Linked DNA regions of Homo sapiens: all the other regions are linked to region 1. Evidence: promoter capture Hi-C in 16 types of primary human blood cells and fetal thymus (Javierre and others, 2016). All regions are on one chromosome and are shown on one strand. Each heading gives the region's core, a stretch centred on a gene start or on the middle of the fragment in contact. The rest is flanking DNA. Distances are from core to core; before and after follow the strand shown. Region 1 holds the start of CAT (catalase). Region 2 has its middle 63 kb from the start of CAPRIN1. Region 3 overlaps APIP (APAF1 interacting protein). Region 4 holds the start of CAPRIN1 (cell cycle associated protein 1). Region 5 overlaps NAT10 (N-acetyltransferase 10). Region 6 overlaps NAT10 (N-acetyltransferase 10).

Region 1 (3,508 bases), core at 306-2,805:
AAGATGATTTGCTCGATTATTTCAACATTTATTTATTCAACAAACTGTGGACTTTGGAGATGAACAGCTGAAGCTAGAATCCTGACTATCCCTTAATAGCTGTGTAACTTTGGGCAAGTTATTTAACCTCCCTATACCTCTGTTTCCTAATCTGTAAAATGAAGATAATATTAGTATCTAACTCATAGGGTTGTTGGGAGGGTTAACTAAGCAAATATACAAAAAGCTGAGAATAGTCCCTGGTATATAGTAAGTGCTCAATAAATTATGGATGGGAGGATCCTGACCCACATGGAGTTTACAGTCTTGGCAGTATGGATCGGGCAGGTAGAAAAAGACACCAAATTACACAGCCAACAGCATCTTTATAATTGTTTTTAATATAGGAAAAGTATAGGGTGCTAAAGATCAATTTGTGGCTTTCTTTTCCAATGAACTGCTAAAGTTCCACTTTTATGCCCAAGATTCTTATCATACTTTTGTAAGATCAAGAACAACATGTGAAGTTTCCACTATTATATATCCACCCATTATATGTAGTTGTACTGGAAAAAATTAAAAGCTGATAACTTTTAATTTGAAGATGATGGTATATACTATGTATATATATTAAGGTGCTTAAAGATAAATCCTAGCACCTGAGGAGGTGTAGAAATCATTCAAACTCTTTGATTACAATGACAAACTAGTCAGTAACTTACTAAATATTGTACTATATATTACTAAGTATTTTACTCTTCAACATAGCTTTTTAAAGACACAAAGCTTTTCAAAATTCCTGCTTACCTGGGGGTAAAATTTGGGGAAGCAGATTTCTCCAGTGTTTAAAGAAGCCAATTTGGCAGTGTACCAGAGTTGAATACATTTTTCCCATCACAAGGGAATACATTTTTCCCATCTAAGTTAAGTTGTTTTTCTCTGGTAAAGGAGGAAATCAACACCCATCTGTACGGAGATAAACGTTTCAGAGTGTTTTTATATTAAATAATTAGTATACTAGTCTAGTAAGTGATAATCCACGAATAAGTTAAGAAGAGCTAAGAAAGAAAAAGAAAAGCATCCATCCATCCTTTGGTTGCAAATAATACTTACATTAGCGTATGGCAAAATTTAATTTTGTACAGAGTAATTTAACCCAGGATTGCTGACTTTTTAAGAGCTGAGAAAGCATAGCTATGGAGCGCAAGGCCCCACCCAGCAGGGTCTAAGTATTCCGTCTGCAAAACTGGCAGGCCACCAACGGCCGCGTCCCAGGGCGGCCTGAAGGATGCTGATAACCGGGAGCCCCGCCCTGGGTTCGGCTATCCCGGGCACCCCGGGCCGGCGGGGCGAGGCTCTCCAATTGCTGGGCCAGAGCGGGACCCTTCCTTTCCGCACCCTCCTGGGTATCTCCGGTCTTCAGGCCTCCTTCGGAGAGCCCTGCTCCGAGCCCATTGGGCTTCCAATCTTGGCCTGCCTAGCGCCGAGCAGCCAATCAGAAGGCAGTCCTCCCGAGGGGGCGGGACGAGGGGGTGGTGCTGATTGGCTGAGCCTGAAGTCGCCACGGACTCGGGGCAACAGGCAGATTTGCCTGCTGAGGGTGGAGACCCACGAGCCGAGGCCTCCTGCAGTGTTCTGCACAGCAAACCGCACGCTATGGCTGACAGCCGGGATCCCGCCAGCGACCAGATGCAGCACTGGAAGGAGCAGCGGGCCGCGCAGGTACACTCTGTGCTCCCCGAGCGGGCCCGAAGGTCCGTTTAGAAAGCGGGGGCGTCGGCAAGTAAAGGCCCGGCTTCCCCCGGGGCGGCGCTTGGAGGGACTGTACCGCGGCTCACTGGGCAGGGGGGATCCCCTTCGGTGCAGACGGACTTTTACATTCGCCGAAGCAGGGGAGGGGGGTCCGGGTAGTGGGGCGCGGGACTGCAGGCTTTGTTGTCCGCGACAGGCTCGGGTGGTTGCTTCAGAATTTTGCACTTTTGCCAACTGGGACAGAGGTCGCAGCTTGAGGACAGATTGAGGGCTCATGGGGAAAGAGGCAGAGAGCTGCAGCTGCAAGGAAGTCAGTGAGGGGAGAAGTGGAACCAGGCTCTAATGGTGCCCTTCTTGAAATACTGTTTACACGCTTTCATAGTTGTGGGGTCCCAGCAGGGCAGGGATTGTGTTTTACAATCTTGAGGTCTCCAGCACCAGTCACAGTGACTGGTACGTACTATGCACATTATTAAACGACTAAATAAAAGAACTTTTACATTCATTGTCTCATTTGCACTTCAAAATGTCAAGCCTAGCATTTTAGAGCTGGGGGGTGACATTAGGGATTGATTAATGCGTTTATTCTATTCTTTGAGCACCTGTAGGTGCTAGGCACTGTTCGGGGCAAGGTGTACAAATTCCAGTGCGGCAAGAACAACACCCTTGAGAAGCTGAGAGTCTAGTCTGGGAGACGAGACACATAAACAGATGATTACACTCCAGCGTGGTGAGGGCTCTAATAGAGGTTATCTGTAGAATGTAGAGGGAGTGACCAGGTGGGCCGGACAAAGCAGGTGACATTTGAACAGGAATTTTTTTAAATGAGTAGGATTTTAACTTGGTGGTGGGGGAGGCATTCCTGGCCTGTGCCCACGGCTGCAGAGTCTCAGAGGGCATCTATGAGGAGGTTGGATTAGATGAGACCACATCTGGTCTGAGTCTACTGTTGGCAGATTGGCCCAGGGAGTCTAAAGGTCTTGCCCTGTTCCCTGGCTGCTGGTTAATGGTAGACAGAGGACTGCAGCCCTGTTTTCCCTATTCTGCCTAGTGCTCTTGCTCAAAACTCAGGTTCGTGAACTGGGGTATTAATGCTAAGTGCTCATGGATTGCTTTAATGGTTCCCTGTTTGGGAAAAGGCTGCCATTCTCCTCCAAGGGCCTGGAAAATCTCCCCTCTTGGCCCTGTTCTTTGTTATATACCATTAGGTTGGTTCATGAGCTCTTAAAGTAAACCAGAGAGAGGTAGAGTCTTAGTAAAGGATGTGCCACTACTTAGTGGCAGAGACAAGGTTAGAATTCAGCTTCTTGGACCCAAGACTCTTTCCTTACCCAGTGGGTGCAAATCCTGGTTCACACTGAAGTTTTCATGAATACTCGGTGAATTGAGAAAAGTGTGGACAAAGTAGTGAGATTTTTACAAAACAAAATATTTTCTTTTTCTTTTTCTTTTCTTTTCTTTTTTTTTTTTTGAGACGGAGTCTTGCTCTGTTGCCCAGGCTGGAGTGCAGTGGTATGATCTCCACTCACTGCAAACTCCGCCTCCCGGATTCAAGCAATTCTCCTGCCTCAGCCTCCCGAGTAGCTGGGATTACAGGTGTCCACCACCACACCCAGCTAATTTTTGTATTTTTAGTAGAGATGGGGTTTCACCATGTTGGCCAGGCTGGACTGGAACTCCTGACCTCAGGAGATCTGCCCGCCTTGGCCTCCCAAAGTACCGAGATTACAGGTGTAATATTTTCATTTTTAAAGGACTCCCCTTTATTCTGAGACTA
Region 2 (3,508 bases), core at 449-2,948, 450 kb before region 1:
AAGGTGGGGAAAAGATTGAGAAATCGGATGGTTGCCGTGTCTGTGTAGAAAGAAGTAGACATGGGAGACTTTTCATTTTGTTCTGTACTAAGAAAAATTATTCTGCCTTGGGATCCTGTTGATCTGTGACCTTACCCCCAACCCTGTGCGCTCTGAAACATGTGCTGTGTCCACTCAGGGTTAAATGGATTAAGGGTGGTGCAAGATGTGCTTTGTTAAACAGATGCTTGAAGGCAGCATGCTCGTTAAGAGTCATCACTACTCCCTAATCTCAAGTACCCAGGGACACAAACACTGCGGAGGGCCCCAGGGTCCTCTGCCTAGGAAAACCAGAGACCTTTGTTCACTTGTTTATCTGCTGACCTTCCCTCCACTATTGTCCTAGGACCCTGCCAAATCCCCCTCTGCGAGAAACACCCAAGAATGATCAATAAAAAAATAAACTAAAAAAAAAATAATTTAAAAGGCAACAACATAACCTAGCTATAATTTCTGCTTTAAGGAAACCTAAAAATGACAAACAGAAAGTCAGCATTTTTCAAAATATGTGCTGTGAGATACTAGTTCCCGGATGTGCTGGAGGGGGAGTAAGAGAAGGGTACCCTCTTAGTTGAGAGAAATTTCAGAAGATTAATTTCCTCCCTTTGTTTTGTTTCCACACTCAGATCGTAAGTTTCTGATAATTTGCTTTTTGTGCTACTTGCTCATGGGAAGAGCATGTCCTGGGCCACACGACACAAGCTTTCCAGGCTTTTGCTTCACAGCTCAAGTTAGCCTTGTGAAGCTAAATGTCAGCATTCATGGCTAGGCATGGTGGCTCATACCTGTAATCCCAGCACTTTGGGAGACCGAGGCAGGCGGACCACTTGAGGTCAGGAGTTCGAGACCAGACTGGCCAACATGGCGAAACCCTGTCTCTACCAAAAATTTAAAAATTAGCCAGGCATGGTGGCACATGCCTGTAGTCCCAGCTACTCGGGAGGCTGAGGCACAAGAATCACTTGAACACAGTAGGCAGAGGTTACAGTGAGCCAAGATGGCACCACTGCACTTCAGCCTGGGTGACAAAGCAAGACCATGTCTCAAAAAATAAATAAATAAAAAATAAATGTCAGCACTTATACTTATATAAAAACATATGCGTATGTTCTTGTATACATATAGTGATTTAGCTGAGTAGTTAATTTAGTCATAGCAAATACGCTTAACACTTTACATAGCAAATATGCATAACAAATACGCTTAACACTTTTTCTTCTTTAAGTGGAAGGGCCATAGTGGGGGGACTTTCACCTTCAAAGCTACACTTTCTCTAATATTTGAAATTTTTACAATAGCATGTTTAATGTATATAACCTAAATATATACATATATTTAAGTTACCATATTCAATTGTAGAATTTGAGAGGTAAAAAATATTTTCCCAAAAATGTTCCCAAATGCATCTCTCAAGCTTCCACATGCCCAGACTGGCAGAAAATCCAATTTTCCTAAGCACAGCCCACCTACCTCCTTCTCTGCAAAACTCCCCTGCCTCTGCTTGTATTCAAAGCACAAGCCCTGGCTGAATGTGCTTGCCAAGTCCCTAGAATTGAAGCTTAGAGCGCCCCCTTGAGCCTTGAGGGGCATCCACAGTGCTGCCCAGCTCTTATTCTTTAATATGCAACCGACGAACGTTGACTTGGTGTAAGAGACCCTCTTGTCAATGCTGCTGCTGTTGCTCCTCCCAGTGACCTTAGAGTTCTTTTTAGAAATAGTTTCTCTCACTGAAAAATATAAAAGTCATCTTCACCAGACTCTAAGCTTTTCTTTTTTTTTTTTTCGAGACAAGTTCTCTCTCCGTCACCCAGGCTGGAGTGCCATGGCACAATCTCAGCTCACTGTAACCTCCGCCTCCCGGGCTCAAGCGATCCTCTCACTTCAGCCTCCCCACCCACCCCCCACCCCCCGGGTAGCTGGCACTAGAGGCATGCGCCACCATGCCCGGCTAGTTTTTTGTGTGTTTTTGTTTTTATTTTTTGAGACAAGGTTTTACCATGTCACCCAGGCTGGTCTTGAACTTTTAGACTCAAGCGATCCACCCCCCTCAGCCTCCCAAAGTGCTGGGATTACAGGAATGAGCCACCATGCCCGGCCTTATGTATTATTTGTTTAAACTTCACAACATACCTCGATGATAGGTGCTATTCTTCCCATTTTATAGATGAGAAGACTGAGATTTGGAGAGCTTAAATAAGGGGTTTAAGGAGACATTGCATGAATGCTCAACTTCTTGGACAAATAGGACATGAAACTCATATGGAGGTGATTCTGTCAAAAGCATCTACGCAAGGGCTCTGCAGTCTACACCTAGGATGGGCTAAGCCCAGGTTTTCCACACTAGGATGTGTGGACTTTCTGGAATAAGCAGAATCCTGTAGGTACTGATACGGTAAGTAAACACAGTGTATCATCTAAGAGTATGTATTAGTCCATTTTCGCCCTGCTATAAAGACATATCCAAAAGTGGATACTTTATAAAGAAAGGAGGTTTAATTGACACACAGTTCTGCATGGATGGAGAGGCCTTAGGAAACCTACAATCATGGCAGAAAGCCAAGGGGAAGCAAGGCATGTCTTACATGGCAGCAGGTGAGAAAGAGAAGACAGGGGAAACTGCCAAACACTTTCAAAGCTTCAGATCTCATGAAAACTTACACACACCGTCACAAGAACATCACAGGAGAAACCACTCCCATGATCCAATCACCTCCCACCAGATCCCTGCCTTGACATATGGGAATTACAGTTTGAGATGAGATTTGGGTGGGGACACAGAGCCAAACCATATCAGAGTATCAGTTTTCCTTCAAGGTTTTTTGGGGTAAATGTTATTTTATAGTAAGACCAATGGATATATTAAGGAGCATAAATGAAACATTTTAAAATACTTTGAGATAAAAAGGCAAAAAGATAAAACTAAAGCCATCCCGTTGGTGAAAGATTGCATCACAAAATCCTCTAGGACAATGCTTCTCATGCTTTCACGTGCAGATGTCTCTCCTGTAGGCAGGGCCAGCTCCATGGGTGTGAGGCCTGTGGAGTCGCACCTACACTTGCAGATCCTGACTCAGCATGGCTAGGCTAAGGCTGCGATTCTGCAGTTCTAACGAGCTCCCACGTAATACCTGTTGTTGGTCCAAAGACCACACGTTGAGTGGCAAGACCCAGCCCTTCTCTCTATACCTCTGTTTGTTAACACTTAACCAGGAAAGTTTAAGAAGCAGTAGAGAAGGAGGGCAGTGAATCACAGCAGTCAAAATAATATAGTGAAAAGCGTGGGTCTTTACCACTACTTACTCTGTAAAATACTGAGAGGTGACAGCGTGCTGGCAGTCCTCAGAGCCCTCGCTTGCTCTCGGCACCTCCCCTGCCTGGGCTCCCACTTTGGTGGCACTTGAGGAGCCCTTCAGCCCCCCACTGCACTGTGGGAGCCCCTTTCTGGGCTGGCCAAGGCCGGAGCCCACTC
Region 3 (3,508 bases), core at 461-2,960, 450 kb after region 1:
AAGTGGCTATTGTTTCCGAGTTCTGCAACATAAGGATAACATAAAGGGACATTCCTCTGCAACCAGTGAGAATGGGTTGGGATCATACTATTAACAAGGGCTCTTTGTGAATACCAGTGATCCAAATCTTGTGTCCTTGTGTAACATGGAAGAAGCTCTAGGATGGTACATGGTCCACTCACCTCCACAGATAAGTGGACTTGTGGGTCTTCTTATGTGGGGAGAAATTTATGCAGTCCTGGGAATAGACTCAAATAAAGTACAAAATGGTCTGCTGGTAAGTAAAACCCATCTATAAAGTAGGAAAACCAAGGGTACTCTGTTTATTCAAGTGACTTGGTATGTTGTAAATGTCTTTGTAAAATGGAAATTAATTTAGACTTTGATGAACTTTGGGTAATTAAAAGATTAGCCAAATGTTTTAGAAAAATATATTTACACCTACAAAGAAAGAGATATCTGGATAAAAATATAAAAATGACAGAGCTTTTTAGAATAGAAACATGCCAAATATTAAAGTGAAATATCTACTTGGTGCTTTAAGCCACAAACAGAAAGCATTTTGAATTTCAAGTTACTAAATTTTGGAATATACTTCTCTGTACTCCTGCATTTTCACTGTGGTAAGCAAGGGCCAAACCCCAAGAGGTCAAAATACATCTATGTTCAGTTGCTTCTATTTTTATTTGCTTTCTGGTCAGTTAAAAAATAATTTAAATCTTATAGTGCCTCAATTATTTTGTCTACAATGTGACTTTATTAATTGTAGTCCTAATCACATGCAACAGGATCAGTCTCTCTGACACCTGTCAATATTACTCTGTGAAAACAGGAAATTATAAATTTGAATGATAGCGACCCAACCTAAACACAGTAGCTATTGAGTATCCTGGAATTGCCTTGATTACTATTATTTTCTTGGTCATTTATTTCCTTCTTCTGACTTAATTTTTGGTACCACATACTTGTAGCATAAGCTGGAATGGTCCAGTCAAATCTTGGAATTAGTAAATCATTTTATGTTCCCAAAGAGCTTATTGTCTGTATTATTCTGGAAACATAATTTATTGCGTTTGCATTTTATTCCAAATTTATTTGCCCTAAGCATCAAAGAGCCAAACTTTCACTAACAACATGAGAATAGTATTGCTGATAATGCTAGTGACTTATTAAGTCATTTAAATATTAGGGAAAAAAACCAACATTTTACTACAAAATATTCATTTTACTATGTAAAGCACAAATTTAATAAGATTCCAAATACAGTGCCATGTGACTGTGGCTCTTTCCTTCCATGACCTCCACACCCATTAAGAACTAAGGATAAAGCATTTCACATATATGATGAAAATTTCCTATGAGCTGATTTTAGTGCTATAAAAGCCCATTTAATTTTAAAAGATGCGCCAATGAGTGGTTTATGGTGGTCACATAAAATGGTAGTGCATGGATTAGTAAAATTCTACTAGAAAGAACATAGTCCTTTATGTCTTTTTGATCAAAAATATTTCATCTTGAGTCCTGCATTCACCTATTTTTAACTTTGCTAGTTTTTTTAAAGAGCCAGTTGGAAATGGTTATTTTAGCTCATTTGGTAGAAAGCTTTATTTTATACATACACAAACTATTTCTGAACATGCAAATAAAAAGCAGTTAACTAAAGACAGCATTTAGAATATGATTTATTATAAATAATACAGTTGGGAAACTATATTACTGGGACTCAACTTCTAAATGGATACATGAAACAAGAATAAATGTTGTTATCGTAGGATTTGCTGTGAATAGGCCATCTTGAAAGTTTTGGCAAAATAATGTGAAAGCTTGAGCAATGCTGTATTTACACATTAGCAACTAGGCTGATGGTAAGAGAGGAGGCACAGATGGATTTATTGATCTACCATATGGAACATAATCTTACTAGACTGAGAGCATACTTTTATCCCTAACTGTGCCAGTTGTTAACAGAGGAACCTCTTGTCATTTCCCAATGTTCAATGAAAATTTCATGAGTTAACTCAGTAATTTAAAGCAGATAAAATTATAATGGCATCATCTTGTGGTGTACCATTGAATCCCTTTTGTTCCCAATGTTCTGATTATATTTTACATTCCATTCCTTAATATGCAATGCAGCCTCCTTGGGGGCATGACTATATATATTCAACAGCACATAAATATTTTAATAATCCAATTTTGTTAAAGAAAGTGAATTAGAATGAAGTAATAAATCAACATCACTCAATTTAACACACAACCTCCAGACAATAATATTCCTAACACATTTCAGGAGGAAAAAAAGATTAATCCTGTATTGGAAATCCTTGAATGAGATTCTATAATCTTAATTTCATTGATAGCAAGTTACTTCTTACTCACAGTTACTAATACTTACTTTATTTCTTCATCTTCTTGAATAAATGACACTAAATAAATACAATGAGCAATTGAATACTATTTATCCTTTCTGCTTCAATTTAAGTCCAGTACATCTTGTTTTGTCCTCTGAGGAATACAGATTAGCAGGCACTATATTCATTAATGATACAGGTGCTTAGAAAGCATACTGCCGTTCTTTTGATTCAATAAAAAATAATTATTAGGATTTTTAATGATTAGTCATCTGTATTTAAGTGACTTTGAAATATGTATCTGGGAGGTCAAGGCAGGTGGGTTGCTTGAGCCTAGGAGTTTGAGACCAGCCCATGCAACTTAGTGAGACCCAGTCTCTACAAAAAAAAAAAAAAAAAAAACCCCAGAAAAAATTAGCCAGGCGTGGTCGCACATGCCTGTAGTCCCAGCTGCCCAGGAGGATGAGGTAGGAGGATTGTTTAAGCCTGGGAAGTCAAGGCTGCAGTGAGCCATGATCGCCCCACTGCACTCCAGCCTGGGTGACAGAGCAAGACTCTGTTTCAAAAACCAAAGTACCTGAACCTTTGAAACAAATCCTATCTACCTAGAGAGGATCCTCTAGAATCTCAGGTATATGAACATACTTGGTAGCATGTTATTTAACTCTGGTACTCAAAAACTGAGTATTAAGTTATTGTGATTTGAAATTGTGGATCTTCAGTCTTTAGCTATTTGACATATCTGCAGCTTTTGTACATTGCTTCCATTCAGTTACACAAATGTCCACTTGTCCATTTAGAAACTAAAGACCTTCAGTATCACATAAAACTGATCATCAGTTGTTCTTTGGATATAACACATTAGACTTGCTGTGGTCTACTCAAATGGAGAGTTCCCAGTAATAAAGGCTGCCAGAAACTTACCCATGCTTCAAGCTAATTCCTCCTCCAGTCCCAGTGACCCAGCCTAAATGGTAAAACTGTTTGCAAAGTTCTGGGATCAGGTATCTTGGATGCTCCTTGTCCTTAAAAAGAAGGTAATGATTTTTAAAACAGACATCATTTTATCAAGTAACTATTCCAGCTGGTGTTTCTAATAAGAAGCCAATTTAAGAAAGTTTAAGAAAACATACTATAGAAAGAGTACAGTGAAGGAA
Region 4 (3,508 bases), core at 509-3,008, 390 kb before region 1:
CTGAAACTTTAATGTACACACAAATCTCCTGAAGATCTTGTTAAAATGTAGATTCAGTTAAGTCTGCTATGCAGTCCAAGATAGTAGTGATAGTGGTAGTGAGAGAGGTTGGGCTGAATAAACTTTGAGTTGCAAGGAGCTAAAGGATTATCATCTCCGTTTCTAGCCTCTAGGCCTGGCATAATTGCTCAGCGTAGTGCTAAGGATGGTTTAGGTGACTAAATTTTGAAACTATGACTCCCCATCTAATGCAGCAAAAGCCAAAGTCCTTACCGTGGTCTTTCAGGCCCTACAAGACCAGCCCCCTTTAATATGTTTGACCTCATCTCCTACTCTCTGCTCTTGCCACTATGGTTTCCGTGCTGTTCCTTGAACCCAAAAAGCACACTCCGTCTCAGATCTTAGTACTTGGTGTTTCCTCTACCTGGAAAATTCCTCCTCCAAGGTAGCTGCTTAGCCTTCTTCCTCACTTCCTTCAGTACTAGCTCAAATGTCAGTAAGGCTTTCCCTGACCACCGTTTTTTCTTTTCTCTACCATTTCACTATCTGACATGTATTTACTTGTCTTCCCCTTACTTAGATTGTAAGCTCCATGTAAATATGTTTTGTTCATAATCCCTAGCACTTAAGAGTTCCCAGCACACAGTAAGGTGCTTAATAAATATTTGAATGAATATATAACAGACTTTGCAGCTAACCAGGATATCTTGAGGTCGGAGGCTGCTGTTGTTTCTCCAGGCTCCCTCAGGATGCACTGTTGCCAGTCAGCGTTACTCATTTTATTCCCTAGGGAACAGTGGGTTTGGTAGAACTCTCTTCTAAATCTCTTTTTCATAGAATTTAAATTATAAATTGGTCATTTACTGTTGTCACACAATATTGCGTTGCTGAATTTTCCACTGATTATATTCATTTTATTTCCTCCCAGAACTTGGTTTCTTGTTTTTCTGCTCACTGTCCACACCCACTCCACCCCAAGGCTGGAATAATTCTCTTGGAGCAAAAAAATCATCTTTTTCTTTGTATTTCATTGAACGTTCTCTTTACAGTGTTAGGTAAACCTAAAAAAAAAGGAAACAAAAGTCTAATAATTCGTAATACTCAGGCCTACTGGATGTATAACATCATAGGGTAGCTGAAGACTCTTTGTGAGGCCAGAGCTTTAGGATTTAAAAAGCCACCAACCATGACCGTGTCCGACACGTTCTACAGAGAACTCCTAGGTTACTGGGTGATTGTTTGGTGGGGAAGCGGCGAGTTGTCTTTTTTTCAAAAGACGTTTTGGGGTATGGAGTTTGCTCGCTCTGCATACAGAAGGAATTCTAGAAGCTGGGATCGCACCACCCACCCCACGCACCCCTTACTTGCAGAAACCTTTGCCCCCCAACCCCCACCCCCACCCCAAATAAGGGCTCTTCAAGGGGCAGTTGCCAGCTCCAGAGCCAGCTGCTTGACACCTATTGTCCCCGTTTGGGCGTCAAACGATTTCGCCTGAAGGACCCTAGCGTCGATTGCTCTCAAAACTCAAGGGGCCTTTCCTTCGGCCTTGCCGGGGCCATCCCCACCTGCGTCCAGGAGGCGCCCCACAGCGCCGGGGCCGGGGGACGGCGGAGAAGCTAGCGGGCGGCCTCTTCCGGGCAGGCGTTCGCGCCGGGCAGCCCGAGCGGCCGCGAAGGCCCCCGCTCTCCGCTTCTCCCGCCCCTCGCGACCCAGAGGGCTGCTGGCTGGCTAAGTCCCTCCCGCTCCCGGCTCTCGCCTCACTAGGAGCGGCTCTCGGTGCAGCGGGACAGGGCGAAGCGGCCTGCGCCCACGGAGCGCGCGACACTGCCCGGAAGGGACCACCACCCTTGCCCCCTCAGCTGCCCACTCGTGATTTCCAGCGGCCTCCGCGCGCGCACGGTGAGCGCCACCCGGGACCGAGCCGCTGCAGGGGAAGAGGGCCGCTGCGCCCGGGTGTCCTTTATCTCCGGACCCGCTGGAGCTTCCGAGGGGCTTGCCCCCAAGTCCCCCCACCCCACCCCGGTCATTTCCCATGCCCTTCTCTGCCCCCAAGCCCCGACCTCTCTCTTTCCTCCCTTCTCCGGAAGCCGGCAAAAGCCGGCCCTCCCCGGTAGGGACCGTTGCAGTGGCCGTTGGCGGCCGGCGCGGCGATGCCCCGCCTCCGGCGCGAGCCTCGGAGCCCCCGGGCTGGTAGGCCGAGCCGGCGGCTCCGCGGGGGAGGGGCGGGTCGGGGGGCGGTGCGAGGCCCAGCCGGGCGCCCCGCTGGCGGGTCGCGCGCGCGCCCGCGCACTCTTCCTGCCCTCGAGGCGCGCCGCGCCCCCTCCCCCACCCGCTCGCGTAGGCTACCGCTCGCTGCGCGTTTTGTCCCGCGTCTCGCCCCGTCCGTCTCCTGACTGGCCGCTCTTGTCCTTCCTCCCGCTTTTTCTTCTCTCTCCTTGCGGTCTGAAGATGCCCTCGGCCACCAGCCACAGCGGGAGCGGCAGCAAGTCGTCCGGACCGCCACCGCCGTCGGGTTCCTCCGGGAGTGAGGCGGCCGCGGGAGCCGGGGCCGCCGCGCCGGCTTCTCAGCACCCCGCAACCGGCACCGGCGCTGTCCAGACCGAGGCCATGAAGCAGATTCTCGGGGTGATCGACAAGAAACTTCGGAACCTGGAGAAGAAAAAGGTGCCAGGAGTTGGCGGGGAAGGGAGGGGTGGCTGCGGCCGGGCTCTGCGGCCCCTCCGACCCTGGTCGCTGGAGCCTTCGCTTCTTTTCGTCTCGGGAGCGTTACTAGGTCCCCTCCTCCCACCCCCTGGCCCACACGCCCCGTCTCCACGTTCAGCGGGAGCTTCGTGCCCAGAAAACGGGCTCTTGGAAGAGGCACTTGTCACCTGACTCGGACGCGGCACTGTACCCCAGGCCTCTTTATTACTCTTCCGCTGTGGGTCCGGCTTTTTGGCCTTTAGGAGTGGGACATGTGAGGGTGGGGGCCTGTCGTCAGGACTTCACTGTATGGTGCCCTTCTTTCCGTCTCTGAGGCCCGATTTCTCTGACGAGGGCCCAAAATGAAGAGGTCCCTGCGCGGGGGGCTCCGGGTTCAACCGACCGCCTCGTGGAGTTGGGGCGGCCTGCGTCCTGCAGCCTTGGGGTCTGTCCGCTCGGTTACCATGCACTCGAGACCTGTCGAGCGTCCCCTCTTCTTCCGTAGGAGAGAAGTGTGTTTAGAATCTTAAGGTAGAACTGCCTTTCCGGCAGGCCCATTTTGAATGGGTCTTCGATTTGCTACCCCCGCGCCCATGCGATGGGCTCCCCTGCGTTTCCCTCTTTGTTTCAATTGTTTAGGTGTCCCCCCGAGCCTCAGGCTCAGCTCAATCGCGAGATGATTTTCTGCAGCGACTTTTTGTTCCTAGGGGACTGTGAAGGGGCGGGGGACTGCCACGATTTAGATTCGTTGGGGGCTGGGTCCTGGGGAGACTGGAGAGGATGGCTGGGACTCGGGGCACATGGAGAGAGCGTCTAACATGGCGGC
Region 5 (3,508 bases), core at 613-3,112, 310 kb before region 1:
TACAGTTGAACAAACATGCAGAGGCAAAGAAATGGGAGTAAGAAACTTTACAACTCAGGGCATGAGAATGTGTATGACCAGCCTTGCTGACTGAGAAAAGTACAAGTTTGACATTTTAATGATTTTGATTAAAAGAAGCTTTCTTTGGCTTCTGAGGAGCTGGTTTTAGGTGTGATGTTAGTTTCTGTTTTTTTCTACTGGGTTTGGAAGATACATGCAGCTGCCAATAGAGTATGTTCTTCCAACTTCTCGGCCATAATAATGAACCTAGAACTTACTGTGTTTGCCTTTGTGCATTATCTTCCTTGGTGCTCTTTAGAGCTCTGTGGGCATTTTATAGATGAATCAACCTAGGTTTGGGGAGTTCCAGTGATTTACCCAAGATCCCCCAGCAAGTCAGTGCTGATAGAGCTGGGGCTTGAGCTTAGCTCCTGACTCCTTGTCCTTCGTTCTTCCTGCTGCTCTAGCTGTAACAGTCAGCCTCTTAGCCATTAGCATCTGCTGTTAGCATCCTTTATACTCAGCAAGGCAAAGCTAACTTGGAGGTTAGCTTTGGCCTTGGCCTGAGCACCGATTGAGCTCCCCAGCTTCACCATTTGAAAGCGTCAGCACAGCTAGTGATGAGCATGAAACTACTTCTTGTAGCAGTGCACTGGATTGGGAAGCAGTCTGTCTGTTCTGCACACCGAGGGCGTTGTCTCCACAGTGCTTCTAAGCAGCTTGCTTTCACAGATGTTGGTAGCTAAATGTCTGGAGTTGCTTTACTTTCCTTCCCAAAAGGTGTCCTGACTTTTTCCCTTGCTGTTACCTCTGGTTATCACCTTTGGGACAGGAGCAAACAAAAATATTTTCTTTTTTAAATTGTTTCTTTAAGATGTTCCTAATTTCTTAAAAATCCTTCTTTTATTTTGTTCTGTAGGTACTCCAATATCTTTGTTACCTCCCCAAGCCCTGATAACCTCCATACTCTGTTTGAATTTGTATTTAAAGGATTTGATGCTCTGCAATATCAGGTAGGAAATTTGGATTAAGAATTTTTATTTTGGACCTGGTGTGGTGGCTCACGCCTGTAATCCCAGCACTTTGGGAGGCCGACGCGGGCGGATCACCTGAGGTCGGGAGTTGGAGACCAGCCTGACCAACATAGAGAAACCCCGTCTCTACTAAAAGTACAAAATTAGCCGGGTGTGGTGGCGCATGCCTGTAATCCCAGCTACTTGGGAGGCTGAGGCAGGAGAATCGCTTGAACCCGGGAGGCGGAGGTTGCAGTGAGCTGAGATCACGCCACTGCACTCCAGCCTGGGCTCGAAACTCCATCTCAAAAAAAAAAAGGATTTTTATTTTGATACAGTGCTGGGTTTAAATCCAAGTGAAGTCTTTAGAATACTTGCTTACTTTCATAATATTTAGTTTCTGAAACTTGTTTCTAAAGTTTGTCATTGGTTTGACTCCCCACCAGGAACATCTGGATTATGAGATTATCCAGTCTCTAAATCCTGAATTTAACAAAGCAGTGATCAGAGTGAATGTATTTCGAGAACACAGGCAGACTATTCAGGTGAGGCTTGTTCTCAGACCCTGATGTGCAGGGCCAGTGTCTTGCTGTATTTAACTGGCTCTAAGATGTTTCCTGTTATAGACATGTATGTCTTGTGTAATTGCATGTCTTTTAGACAATGGTGGTGTTGTATGCTAAACCTGTTCCAGATTTTCAGACTCTTCTAAAGAAAAACATTCAGCAAACTAACAAATATATGTAGTTAGATTGAAAAGTTGTGTTTTTGTCCTTTGAATATGGAATAAGTGGGGTGGAAAGTACGCTGATTAACTAAAAGAGAATCTTTCTTCTGACATCAGCTCTAACTTTGCTTAGTTATTGCAGTTTTTGAAATGTTGCATCTGTAACTAGAACAATAACCTTACAGCTTAAATGAAAAAAAGAACTTTGCAAAATGTGCTCTGAATCTTTGTGGTTTAGCCAGTGGCCTATTTTCTTTTTTAAACAGTGTTTTCCCAAAAGTTCTAAAAATCTCTAGCACTCTGTAAGCCTGAATGGTCTGCACTTGTCCAAAGGCTGCAGTTTTGCTAAATCTCTAAGAGAGGCATGAGGTGATGGGCTTACAGACGGACTGAGACTAATGGGCTCTTACTGGAGGAGGTTCATTGATTATTTTTGGAATTGGGTTGGGAAGTGAGCCAGGTGAATTTGGCAGTTTATACCCTAGCACTTTATGCCTGTCAAAGCATATGTATATGCATGTCAAGAAGTTATACCTTTTTATCAGAGGCCAGATTATAAACAATGTTAAGTGTTTATGCCTTTCACCTTAATTTTTTCTTACTAGCCTCTTTCTAGAATCTCTTCATTCTGTACATTTCTGCTCACTTTTGCTCGATTCCCCCAGCTGGGAGGAGGAAAGGCTGCTGTTGGTGAGGGTCAGGCTGCAGGCAATGAGAACACGGAGACCTGTTAAAACTCAAGAAAAATACACAAACCAAAGAAGGAAAACATTTCCCTGAAATACCCTGCCTCGGGCCTTGCTCCTTCTTGAATTTGTAATCAAATACTCTCTCATATTACCAGAGTTCTTTTGTCTCCAGTGTGAGCACAGAGGAGGTGACCTTACTTTATGAGACTCCATTTGTGTACCTTTCAGGCCTCTCTTTGGGCTCAAGATTGAGAAAAAGAAGAATATTAGATAAAAGTTGGCTTCACCTCCCCTGGGGGGCTGCTTTCTGCTGCTTTTATGAGATGCTTGTTTAGTTTTTCCCTTGAAGAAGACAAGATCTGGGGCCCTGTTGAGGATGTACATTCTGCTGCTAGAAATGAGCAGGGTTGGCCGGGCATGGTGGCTCATGGCTCTAATCCCAGCGCTTTGGGAGGCTGAGGTGGGCGAATCACTTGAGGTCAGGAGTTGGAGACCATCCTGGCCAACATGGTGAAATCCCATCTCTACTAAAATTTAAAAAAGTTAGCCAGGCGTGGTGGCATGCGCCTGCAATCCCAGCTACTCGGGAGGCCGAGGCAGGAGAATTGGTTGAACCCGAGAATTGGTTGAACCCTGGAGGCAGAGGTTGCAATGAGCCGAGATCACACCACTGCACTCCAGCCTGGGCGACAGAGTGAGGCTTTGTCTCAAAAAATGAAAAAAAGAAATGGGTGGGGTTGCCGCCTCCCTGGCCCATCAGCTTGTAGCAAAGCAGAACATCTTATTTGTAATGAAATAGTTCAAATGTATAGGAGCGTGCAGAGACCAATATAACATTCAGGCACCCAACACTCAGGTTTAAGTATTGTTGACATTTTGATGTTTGCTGTGTTTGTTTCATATTTCAAATGTCATTTAGATTTTTGTTTTAAAGAACTAAAACATCACAAATACAGTTGAAGTCCCTCAACCCCTTTCCATCCTATTTCCTTCTGTCCCTCCCCATGGGTGACTTAGTTCTGATACTGGTGTGTGTCCTTTCAGTTCATGTGTTTCTATGTTTACTACGTAATTATCTG
Region 6 (3,508 bases), core at 263-2,762, 290 kb before region 1:
GAAAAACTGGCCAGGTGCAGTGGCTCACGCCTGTAATCTCAGCACTTTGGGAGGCCGAGGTAGGAGGATCGCTTGAGCCCAGGTGTTCAAGACCAACCTGCGCAACATAGCAGACCCTGTCTCTGCAAAAAAATTTTAAAAAGAAAATAAATGAAAAACTGAGAAATTTAAAAAAAATTCATTTGTTCACAGTAATAACGGACTCAGTCGTTTTGAAAAATACTCTTTTTCATAAAAATTTTGGTGAGAAGAGTGGCATTGTTTTACATTTACATTTTTGCAAATCTCTTCAATATCTGGCTTAACAGAAGGCAGCCGGATACTAATGTCTGTGTCTTCACTGACACTATTTTGCTGTCATATCTTATACTCTCTGGAAAACTGAATATTTGTGAGAGAATGAAAATGAAAAAAGGCAAATAACTGTTTTCATACTAATCCAAATACATTTTGACCTTGTGGACACCTGAAAGGGTCTTAGGGACCCCAGCAGTCCCTAGACCACTCTTTGAAAATCTTCACTCCAAGCTTCTTATCTGCAGAGTGGTGCATTTGTAAATAACTTAGGCTGGAACCTTCATCAGTTTTCCCTGGGAGTACAATGAGGCCTCCCCTGCCCAGAGCCACTGGAATTGAGGCTTTCACAGCTGATTTGGGGGTTGATGGGGAGGGTGAGATTTTGGCAATCCCCTATTTATTGGTTTCCTTAAAAGCTTATATTTTGGAAACATTCGGGAAGAGGAAACCTTGTGTCTCTAGGAACTATAGATCCCAGAAATCAGGTACTGTCTTCCAGAGTCTCCGTTAGTCACTGTGGCATCTTGAAGGATCCAGCATCGATGCCGGCCTCATTTCCCAGATGCTTTGTGGTGCAGCACAGAAGCCCACTGTCAGTGTGACCTGTCTCTGTTTTGTACAGTATGGCAAATGTAGCACAGGGCCCATGATGGCTTTGGCCTTGAGCACGGTGGCTTTGACTGGAACAAAAGGCCGGGGAGCATGCTTGCTGTGGAGACGGCCTCAGCTCCTCACTCTGCAGAGCTTGGCCTTTCCTGCCATTTGTTTGGCCATTGCTGGTAGTGAGAAGCCTCTCGAGCCCAACAAACCAGTGTTGTGTGGTTGTTCATGTGCTTGATGGCTCTGAGTAAATGTGAAAGCTTGAACTTTGTGAGCTAAAAATACTGGTAGCTATCATTAAGTCCTCTGAGGCCTTTCTTTTTCTTCCTTTGAGAGGTACTTCATTCATATGATGTTAATGGTCTCTGGACTGAACTCTTCACGGTCTCCTTATAGGGAAGTATTTGTTCCCAGAGCAAAATTTAACCTGTAAGTTTCTTAATGGCAGGTGGCCGTTTGCTGAGTGATTCCTATGCCAGGATATCAATGAAGAATCCAGGGGCTGGTCGCAGGGTGTCACCTGAGTTACTGTTGTTTGGGTTTTCTTCTTCTCATATAGGAAAAATAAAATAATAGTAGCACATCAGAAAGTATGGCAGGGTTTTCCTTGGAGTCTCATGCCTTGTATTAAGGACTGTCTTCAGGGTCATTGGGATGAATATGTCTAGTTTCCAGAGTCACTGCAGTGGTGAGAGTGGTGGTGGGGAATCCTTGTGGTGCCTTAGGTCTGTCTTGGGAGAGGGGAGCAGAGTGTACTGCACCCTGAGGAGAACCCGGATTTCAGGTGTTAAGATCGAGATTTGTTCTTCCACAGACTAAGAGCTGGCTCAGGGCAGGAGCTGGTCTGTATGGTGTGTCCCCAGCCCCAGCACAATGCCTGCCCCCTAATAGGTTTGCAGAGAACATTAATGTCCAATTGGGTGGCCTACATCAAGTTTCAGACGGTGGAAACCCTTTTTGACAAAGCAAAGCAAGCTTAAAGCAGTCTCAGATGTTCAGATCTGTACATATTTCATTCTTTCTATTTTTGATTTTTCTCTAGTGACAAGAAAAGGAAGTTAGAGGCCAAACAAGAACCCAAACAGAGCAAGAAGTTGAAGAACAGAGAGACAAAGAACAAAAAAGATATGAAACTGAAGCGGAAGAAATAGTGAAGAGAAACTCGGGCATCTGTGTTTGATCATGGGAAGATACTCTCACTAACTGAACCCTCTCTGGCTGGACTGTTAAAAGCAACGAGAGGCCCCGGCACACCTGGAAGCTGGCCGCGAATTCGGCCTCTGGGCCTGTGTGTCTGTGAGCTCAACCTGGCTAAAGGCAGAGTCACTCCCAAATGGGTCTCTTTAGAACTTGATGGCTGGGCACTGCCATCTCTAGAATTGCCACGAGTCTCTCTCTTCCTGCCCAGTCCAGGGCCCTCCTTTCCTATAAGTTCATATTTTGCTTTGAGCCAGCTTTTTAGTCTCATTCCCACACATGTGGAAGCCACGTTGCCTCTCGACCGCCTGAGGCCCTTAAGTACATCGCTTTCTGGTGGTGCCCAGGAGGCTGCTGCTGGGCCGCTGGGTCTCTCTTTGTGGACTTGTACCTGGAGCAGGAGGAACTCCAGTCCGTCCCGGCATCCATGGCAGCCCGCGGTTAGGTGCGCCAGGGTTTGCTGATGTTGTCTTGTGCTGTTCCACTCTTGGCTCCAGCAGACCCACTGTCCCAGAAAAGCCTGATCCTGTAGTTTATGTAGAATGCCACATCTGCGTCCTCAAGACCTGTTTCATCCATTTGGGAAAAGATGTTGGGAAAGGCCACTTTGCTCGCAGGGGTGAGGGGAAGGATAGAGAATCTATTTTTAATAAATAACATTCTAGAAAGATCAGCTGCCTGTGAGTGTTCTGAAATCCACGCACCTGGACGTTTCTTCTGGTGGGTCTTGGCTGCCTGGTGGAATTTGGAAGGTGTTGGTATCAAGGTCAAAGGTGAGCAGTGTGTCTAGGGCTTCCCAGCCCAGGAGTCTGCGGGAGAAGTGGCAGGTGGCTATGGTCACCTCGAGGGGCTTGGTGTGGTGGCTGGAAGCCAGCTAGAACTGCCTCATTTCCTTCCCAGCTCCTTCCAGGTCACTTGGTCCCTTCCATTTGTTGGGAACAGAGGTAACCTGGTGGCTTTACACATACTTTGGTATGTTTGTTTAATGGTATCCAGGCTAATGAGTCTGCAGCCCCGATATGTTGTCTAGGTTCAGAGAAGGACAGGGAAGGAAACGGTAACTTCTCAGCCTAAGGGTATTTCATATACAGCTCCTAGGACTCGTCCCCACAGGGAGAAGAGCAGGTTCTGTATGCGACCCTAGGGCTGCTGAGGCTTGTCACCGAGGCTGTCAGGACATGAGCCTAGGGGTCTTTCGTTTCTTGGGACTGAAGTTTCCTGGCCACAGACCTCTGTTAGGTCTGTAGGAAATTTTGCTGGAGGCAGGGAGGGGGCATGAAAATAATTTTTATTTATTTTCTCAGGTGGGTGCCTGAACCTGCCTTTCAAAGAGGGTTTTCTTAGACCGTGGCCAGAAGCAGAGTCACATGCTCAAATGGTCAGAGCTGGATGGGACTGTGCAAGTTGTCCAGGC

What was found. The method cuts DNA at HindIII sites, captures the fragments that hold promoters and counts their contacts. A CHiCAGO score of 5 or more calls a contact.
Region 2: a fragment that was not itself captured here is called in contact with the fragment with the promoter of CAT in region 1 in 1 of 17 cell types (fetal thymus); the score reaches 6.7 in fetal thymus.
Region 3: a contact is called between a fragment that was not itself captured here and the fragment with the promoter of CAT in region 1, in 1 of 17 cell types (M2 macrophages). The highest score is 5.5, in M2 macrophages.
Region 4: a contact is called between the fragment with the promoter of CAPRIN1 here and the fragment with the promoter of CAT in region 1, in 1 of 17 cell types (neutrophils). The highest score is 5.5, in neutrophils.
Region 5: a contact is called between a fragment that was not itself captured here and the fragment with the promoter of CAT in region 1, in 1 of 17 cell types (megakaryocytes). The highest score is 5.6, in megakaryocytes.
Region 6: a contact is called between a fragment that was not itself captured here and the fragment with the promoter of CAT in region 1, in 1 of 17 cell types (erythroblasts). The highest score is 5.7, in erythroblasts.

What each region holds. Positions count from the first base shown.
Region 1 is chr11:34,437,379-34,440,886 of GRCh38, forward strand. CAT (catalase) reads left to right here and starts at 1,556. Exons shown (of 13, transcript NM_001752.4): 1 at 1,556-1,701. The coding sequence starts at 1,636. RefSeq lists enhancers at 1,369-1,418, 1,589-1,888. The HindIII fragment of the contact is 7,598 bases long and covers 764-3,508 here.
Region 2 is chr11:33,986,566-33,990,073 of GRCh38, forward strand. No RefSeq gene overlaps it. Among named protein-coding and RNA genes, the nearest start is that of CAPRIN1, 63 kb to the right of the region's middle. RefSeq lists an enhancer at 3,184-3,508. The HindIII fragment of the contact is 206 bases long and covers 1,596-1,801 here.
Region 3 is chr11:34,891,735-34,895,242 of GRCh38, forward strand. APIP (APAF1 interacting protein) reads right to left here. Exons shown (of 7, transcript NM_015957.4): 2 at 3,276-3,376. Among named protein-coding and RNA genes, the nearest start is that of APIP, 23 kb to the right of the region's middle. The HindIII fragment of the contact is 221 bases long and covers 1,601-1,821 here.
Region 4 is chr11:34,049,973-34,053,480 of GRCh38, forward strand. CAPRIN1 (cell cycle associated protein 1) reads left to right here and starts at 1,759. Exons shown (of 19, transcript NM_005898.5): 1 at 1,759-1,899; 2 at 2,449-2,664. The coding sequence starts at 2,449. LOC101929918 (a long non-coding RNA gene) reads right to left here and starts at 3,355. Exons shown (of 3, transcript XR_931177.3): 1 at 2,347-3,355; 2 at 699-1,061. RefSeq lists silencers at 1,414-1,613, 1,473-2,022, 2,063-2,362 and enhancers at 2,973-3,042, 3,113-3,182, 3,253-3,322, 3,353-3,508. The HindIII fragment of the contact is 10,606 bases long and covers 1-3,508 here.
Region 5 is chr11:34,122,843-34,126,350 of GRCh38, forward strand. NAT10 (N-acetyltransferase 10) reads left to right here. Exons shown (of 29, transcript NM_024662.3): 10 at 920-1,013; 11 at 1,460-1,558. Among named protein-coding and RNA genes, the nearest start is that of NAT10, 19 kb to the left of the region's middle. The HindIII fragment of the contact is 3,453 bases long and covers 137-3,508 here.
Region 6 is chr11:34,144,145-34,147,652 of GRCh38, forward strand. NAT10 (N-acetyltransferase 10) reads left to right here. Exons shown (of 29, transcript NM_024662.3): 29 at 1,940-2,764. The coding sequence ends at 2,048. Among named protein-coding and RNA genes, the nearest start is that of NAT10, 40 kb to the left of the region's middle. RefSeq lists enhancers at 827-1,066, 1,297-1,466. The HindIII fragment of the contact is 715 bases long and covers 1,156-1,870 here.